Linked DNA regions of Homo sapiens: region 1 is linked to region 2. Evidence: promoter capture Hi-C in human tissues and cell types (Jung and others, 2019). All regions are on one chromosome and are shown on one strand. The core of a region is centred on a gene start or on the middle of the fragment in contact, and the rest is flanking DNA. Distances in the headings are between cores, read along the strand shown.

What was found. Contacts are between HindIII fragments. The study calls those that stand out against the background at their distance.
Region 1: a contact is called between a fragment that was not itself captured here and the fragment with the promoter of PRRC2B in region 2, in 1 of the 25 tissues and cell types used here (spleen).

What each region holds. Positions count from the first base shown.
Region 1 is chr9:131,351,610-131,355,006 of GRCh38, reverse strand. The region is part of intron 3 of LOC105376299 (a long non-coding RNA gene); the gene reads right to left. Among named protein-coding and RNA genes, the nearest start is that of PRRC2B, 41 kb to the left of the region's middle. RefSeq lists an enhancer at 2,406-2,907. The HindIII fragment of the contact is 5,352 bases long and covers 1-3,397 here.
Region 2 is chr9:131,392,655-131,396,373 of GRCh38, reverse strand. It overlaps PRRC2B (proline rich coiled-coil 2B), which reads right to left and starts at 2,288. Exons shown (of 32, transcript NM_013318.4): 1 at 2,111-2,288. RefSeq lists enhancers at 1-264, 1,027-1,788, 2,915-3,064 and silencers at 1,595-1,884, 2,115-2,224, 2,255-2,444. The HindIII fragment of the contact is 30,479 bases long and covers 1-3,719 here.

The sequences.
Region 1 (3,397 bases), core at 255-2,754, 41 kb after region 2:
CGAGATCAGCCTGACCAACATGGTGAAACCCCGTCTCTACTAAAAATACAAAATTACCCAGGCATGGTGGTGTGCGGCTGTAATCCCAGTTACTCAGAAGGCTGAGGCAGGAGAATCACTTGAACCGGGGAGGCGGAGGTTGCAGTGAGCTGAGATCCGGCCACTGCAATCCAGCCCGGGTGACAGAGTGAGACTCCGTCTCAAAAAAAAAAAACAAACTATATATCTATATCTATGTCTATATCTATATCTGGGAAAATTTGCATGAGGTTGGCTTTGGTTTTTTTGTTTTTGTTTTTTTTTTTGACAGAATCTTGCTCTGTTGCTCAGGCTAGAGAGCAGTGGCGCTATCTCGGCTCACTACAAGCTCTGCCTCTCGGGTTCACGCCATTCTCCTGCCTCAGCCTCCCAAGTAGCTGGGACTACAGGCGCCCGCCACCGCGCCCTGCTAATTTTTTGTATTTTTTTTTAGTAGAGGCCAGGAGTTTGAGACCAGCCTGGTGGGGTTTCACCATGTTAGCCAGGATGGTCTTGATCTCCTGACCTCGTGATCCGCCCGCCTTGGCCTCCCAAAGTGCTGGGATTACAGGCGTGAGCCACTGTGCCCGGCCATTTGGCGTTGGTTTTTTAAACAACACCAAAAGCACAGGCAACAAAAGAAAAAATGGATAAATCATACTTCATTAAAATTAAAGACTTCTATGCATCAAAGGACACTATGAAGGATGAAAAAATCCACAGAAGAAAACATTTGCAAATCACATATTGATGAGGGTTTAATTTCCAGATTATATAAATAACCCCTATAATTCAATTTTTTTTTTCTTGAGACGGAGTCTCACTCTGTCGCCAGGCTGGAGTGCAGTGGCACGATCTCGGCTCACTGCAACCTCCGCCTCCAGGGTTGAAGCGATTCCCCTGCTTCAGTCTCCTGAGTGGCTGGGACTACAGGCGTGTACCACCACGCCCGGCTAATTTTTTGTATTTTAATAGAGACAAGGTTTCACCATGTTGGCCAGGATGGTCTTGATCTCCAGACCTCATGATCCGCCCGCCTCATTCTCCCAAAGTGTTGGGATTACAAGCGTGAGCCGTTGCGCCCGGCCTTTTTTTTTTTTTTTTTTTTTTTAAGACGGAGTCTTGCTCTGTCACCCAGGCTGGAGTGCAGTGGCGCAATCTTGGCTCACTGCAACCTCCGCCTCCCGGGTTCGAGTGATTCTCCTGCTTTAACCTCCTGAGTGGCTGGGATTACAGGTGCATGCCACCACACCCGGCTAATTTTTATATTTTTAGTGGAGACAGAGTTTCACCATGTTGGCCAGGCTGGTCTCAAACTCCTGGCCTCAAGTGATCTGCCTGCCTTGGTCTCCCAAAGTGCAGGGATTACAGGTGACAATTCAATTTTAAAATGAGCAAAGAGGGCTGAAACAGGAGGATCACTTGAGCCCGGGAGGTTGAGGCTGCAATGAGCAGAGATCGGGCCACTGCACTCCAGCCTGGGTGACAGAATGAGACCTTGTCCCAAACAAAGCAAAACCACTATGAAATACAACTTCATACCCACTAATTTTTATTAGAGCCGGCTCTAATTAAAAAAATGGGAAGTAACAAGTGTTGGCAAGAATGTGGAGAAATGGCTGGTGGGAACGAAAATGGTGTCTCTACTTTGGAAATCGGTTTGGCTATTCCTCAGAAAGTTCAACACAGAGTTACCATATGACACGGCAATTCCATTCCTAGGTCTATGCCCACAGGATTGAAAGCAGGGACTCAAACAGGAACTCGTACGCCAACATTCATAGCGAGGTTATTCACAACAGCCAAAAGGTGGGAACAATTGAAACATCCCTCAGCAGAGGAATGGACAAGCACGATGTGGTACAGTCCCACACCACAATGTTTTGGTTAATGATGGGCCGCACGTATGACTGTCGTCCCATGCGATTATAATGGAGCTGAAAAATTCCTATCGCCCAGTCTATCGTAGCTGTCACAATGTCTACGACAATGTGTTACTCATGTGTTTGTGGTGATGCTGGTGTAAAAGAACAGCAGGAGCATATGATTATGTATTGAACCTAGTATTTTTTATTATTTCTTTTTGAGACAGAGTGTGGCTCTATTGCCCAGGCTGGAGTGCAGCGGTGTAATCTCAGCTCACTGCAACCTCCGCCTCCTGGGTTCAAGCAATTCTCTTGCCTCAGCCTCCCGAGTAGCTGGGATTACAGGCATACAACACCATGCCCAGCTAATTTTTGTACTTTTTTAGTAGAGATGGGATTTCTCCATGTTGGCCAGGCTGGTCTTGTACTCCTGACCTCAGGTGATCCACCCACCTCAGCTTCCCAAAGTGCTGGGATTACAGGCGAGAGCCACCACACCCAGCCTTGTTTTTTTTTTTTGAGACAGAGTCTTGCTGTGTCACCCAGGAGTGCAGTGGTGCCATCTCAGCTCACCGCAACCTCCGCCTCCTACTCTCAGGCGATCCTCCCACCTCAGCCTCCCAAGTAGCTGGGACTACAGGTGCAAGCCCCCACACCTGGCTAACTTTTTGTATTTTTTGGTAGAGACGGGGTCTTGCCATGTTGCCCAGGCTGGTGTTGAACTCCTGGGCTCAAGTGATCTGCCCACCTTAGCCTCCCAAAGGGCTGGGATTACAGGCATGAGCCACCAAGCCCACTGGCATTATTATCACATATCTCAGCTTCATGCATGTTATTGCCCCTGAAAACCTTCTAGGTGGTCAAGATGTGGAGGTGGACAACAGTGATACTGATGATTCTATCCCTGTGTAGGCCTAGGCTCATGTGTGTGCTAATGTCTTTGTTTTGTTTTGTTTAAATAAGAGACAGGGCCTCACTGTGTTGCCCAGACTGGGTTCAGGTCATCCCCTTGCCTCAGCCTCCCGTAGGTGGGACTGCAGGCATATCTTACCTCACCTGGCTTGTGTCTCAGTTTTTAACAAAAAACTTTTAAAAGTAAAAAAATAGGCCAGGTATGGTGGCTCACACCTGTAATCCCAGCACTTTGGGAGGTTGAGGTGGTTGGATCACAAGGTCAGGAGATTGAGACCATCCTGGCCAACATGGTGAAACCCCGTCTCTAATAAAAATACAAAAATTAGGCGGGTGTGATGGCGCGTGCCTGTAATTCCAACTACTCAGGAGGCTGAGGCAGGAGAATCACTTGGACCTGGGAGTTGGAGGTTGCAGTGAGCCAAGATCACGCCACTGCACTCCAGCCTGGTGACAGAGCGAGACTCCGTCTCAAAATAAATAAATAAATAAAAATAAAAAATAAAAGTAAAAAAATAAAAAATAAGAAATTTTAAAAATAGAAAAAAGATTATAGAATAAGGATATAAAGAAAATATTTTTGTACAGCTATGCAATATATT
Region 2 (3,719 bases), core at 1,039-3,538:
AGCCTGGGCGACAGAGTGAGACTGTCTCAAAAAAAAAAAAAAAAAAAAGAAAAGAAAAGAAAAAAGAAGGAAGGGAAGGAAGGAAAAGGAAGGGAAAGGGAGGGAGGGAGAGAGGAAGAGGGCAAGGGAGGAAGGAAGGAGAAAGGAACCAGAAAAACAGATAATCAACAAACACATACATTTCATCACCTTCCTATGGAGAGAAAACAATTCACTGTGAATCTTAAGTGAGGCTCCCAAGAGCCCTAATAGATACCCAAGGCAGGCATAATTATTCCCATTTTACAGATGCAAGATCTGAGCCTCAGAGACTTGCTTTGTAAAGGTAACCCGATGAGGACCAGAATCCAGCTGCGCAGGCTCCAAGAGACACACTTGCCCAAACAAGTAGAAACTCACTCTCAGATGATTATCTGCCAATCCCCAAGGAAAGCAGTTATCCTCAGAAGGCAGGACTCCTTGGGCGTCTGTTTGTCCTGAGCATCTCGTACTGTTCTAACCCTGCCTTAAACTGACCAACTGCCACACACTCCGGGTCTACTAAGTTCTAGAGACCTCCAAATGCTACTTTTTCCCATCCCTGCCTCCCGAGAGGCTCAGCACTGTATAAGCGCCCACTAATGTTTGGGCCTTGAATTCCTTCTGTATTGTCCATGCCTTAGGCCAGCACCTGTGGCATCCATGGGCACAGTTTGGCTCTATGGGTGGCACCACAAGGGGCTCACGTCTGTCCTAGGACTTGACAGCAGTTATACCAACAACCGTAGGAGGAACCACTAACTGTGCCAGGCCCTCTGCTAGGCCCTTCACCGCTGCCCAAACCTGCCAGGTGGAGGGTGCACGCCCCGATTTATGCAGATGAAGCCTCAGACAGCCCCAGAGTCACTAGGTTTACGGAAGAAAGAAGCAGGATCTGCACCCCAATGCCTGGGCCTCCCCAGTCCCACCTTACACCACAGCGCTGTGCATAGACATGACTAAATGGCTGCAGCGAGATTCGGAAAAACCATGCTAAGACCGCACACAATTGGTTACAAAAACCAAACTGGATGACACTGTACAAAGCCACATCAAATGCACACTAAACCTTAAAGAAAAAAAAAATCTTAGGGAAAGTTTAACAGTCCTGTAAACCAAAGGCATTTAAAGATTTCTCCCAGGAAGCCATTTAGCAAAAGACACTCCCCAGCCCCCCTTCTCCCACTTCCTTCAAGCTCACCACTGAAAACACCTCCAATTCTTGCCTAAAGGTGGGCTCCGACCTCCCACGATATTTAGAAGGAGGAAAAAAGAAAAAGGAAAAAAATCCACCTCTTAAGGCAAATCCACTCTTCAGAGGCCCACAGTTTCAACAGGGCTGAATTTCTCTCCTGGGGGTTGAGGGGAGGCAAAAGAGGAGGAAAAAAAAAAAAACCCCATCTGGCAGGCCCCGAGTGGCGACATCCTGTTTATTATTAAACATTTTTAGCATGGAGCATTCAGCATTTCGAAAATAACCCTCTGGTTCCCGCACTCACACCGAGACTGGGCGGCCGCTCGCCTCCCTCCCCCAGCCGCCAACTTTAGCGCCGCCGGGGCCCGGCCCACCCCGCGCCAGGAACGGCCCCGCGAACGCCGCTCAGCGCCCCGGACCCAAGGCCCGACCCCGCAGGATCCCGCCTCGGGCGCGCTGCTCCGTCAATTGGGCGGGGCGGGGAGCAAAGACGCCGGCCCCAGAACCCCGAGACCCGGCTGCGGGCCCGGGACCCCCGCCCCTCCGGCCTCTGCAGCCCGGCCCGGCCTCGGGGGTACGGGGGTGGCGGGCGAGCCCTGAGGGAGTCGCGCGGCCCCTGGACCCCGCCCGAGCCTGAGGCCGCGCGGCGCCGCCACAACAATGGCGAGCGCGCCCGGGCCCGCCGCCCCCAGGCCCCGCGGCCTCCCAGCCCCGCAGCCCCGCGCCCGGCGGGAAGGAGGCGGCGGCGGCCGCGCTCGCGGACAAAGGTCGGGCAGGGCCGCAGGGCCCCCGGGCCCCCGGCGGCGGCCGCGGGAGACAAAGCCCGGCCGGGCCGCGCCGCCTCCATCTTAGCGCCGCCGCCCCCACGCCCCGGCCCCGGCCCCGGCCCCGACCCACCTGGTCTGGTTCCGCGGGCGCGGCCGGGCCGGGCGATGGCAGTCGGGCGGCGGTCGGGCACGGGGGCGGCGGGATGGCGGCGGATTGCGAGGCGGCGGCGCGGGCTGCTCGCTCGCTCGCTCCCTCCCTCCTCCCGGGCTCGCTCGTCGCTGCGCGGTGGAGCCTCGGCGCCTGTCTCGCCGCTCGCTCCCTCGCGCTCGGCTCCCCGCCCCCCGCCTGCCGCCGCCCCCGCCTCCTCGTCCTCCTCCTCCCGCCGCCGCCCGCAACCTGGGCCCGCGCAGCGCCCCCTGCCGCGCCTCCCGGGAGCGGCGGCCTTGGGATCGGCCCGGGGGCCGGGCGAGGGCTGGGGCCAGGGGGGAGGGGCGGGGAGCGGCGGGAGGGGGCTGGGAGGGGGCTGGGAGTGGGGAGGGGCCCGGGGACGGCGGGAGAGGCGGGAGAGAACGGGGCAGAGCGGGGATCGGGGAGGAGACCCGGAGGAGGGGCCAGGAGCCAAGAGAAGGGGCCTGGGAAGGGCATGGGCCCGGCCTGGGCCCGGGGGAAGGGCGCCCGGAAAGAGGGGGAAGGGATGGAGGGGGCAGTGACGGGGGAGCGAGCCCGGATCTCCGCCCCCTCCCCCTTCAAAACTGCAGCGCCTCAGAACAGACTAAGCCCGGATTTTGTTAAAATATGTATACGGTATATGAACGGAAAGGAAGCAGAAATAATACTTTTTTCATTTCAAAAGCAAGGTTGTTGCACAATATGGGTACTTTGTCCCATTTTTACAAAATGAAAACTAATAAGCCCCTCCTCTTGAGTGTTGTGTGTTTGTGTGATTGCAAAACAAAAGGTCCGGGAGACTGCACTCCTGTCTTGGTTACCTCCGTGGTTTGAGGTTGGGAGAGCGGAGGAGGGTTCTTACTTTTTTAGACACCTAACCAACTATAAAAGCAATTTCAAAAAGCAAATACAAAAAAAAAATGTTAGGGCCTGGCACCCAAATCATCCCACCCTCTTCCAGTCACGGTTGCTCTAAGCACCAGCTGCGGGCCATGCCCTATGCTAAAGCACGTGGTTTGTCTCACTTAATCCTAACCCAGGGGCAGATATTATTGTTCTAATTCACAGGTGAGACAAAGGAGGCTTTGAGAGAATGTGCCCCAGGCCACACTGCTGGACCCAGAAGGAAAATTAACCCACTTCAGCCTAACTCCAGAACTGAGGCTGGTGAACAAAGCTTAGTTTTTGGGGAGTAGAATTCTGGATACTTTTATAGCCTTATTTATAATTCTCTGAATTTTCCTACATTTTATCCATGGTCATTTTCAGTGTTATCCTTTTTTTCTTTTTTCTTTTTTTTTTTTTTTGAGACAGTCTCGCTCTGTCCCCCAGGCTGGAGTGCAGTGGCACAATCCGCAATCTCTGCTCACTGCAACCTCCAACTCCTAGATTCAAGCGATTCTCCTGCCCCAGCCTCCTGAGTAGCTGGGATTACAGACATCTGCCACCATGCCCAGCTAATTTTTGTATTTTTGGTAGAGATGGGATTTCACCATGTTGGCCAAGTTGGTCTGGAACTCCTGCGCTAAAGTGATCCACCTACCTTGGCCTCCCAAAGTGTTGGGATTAC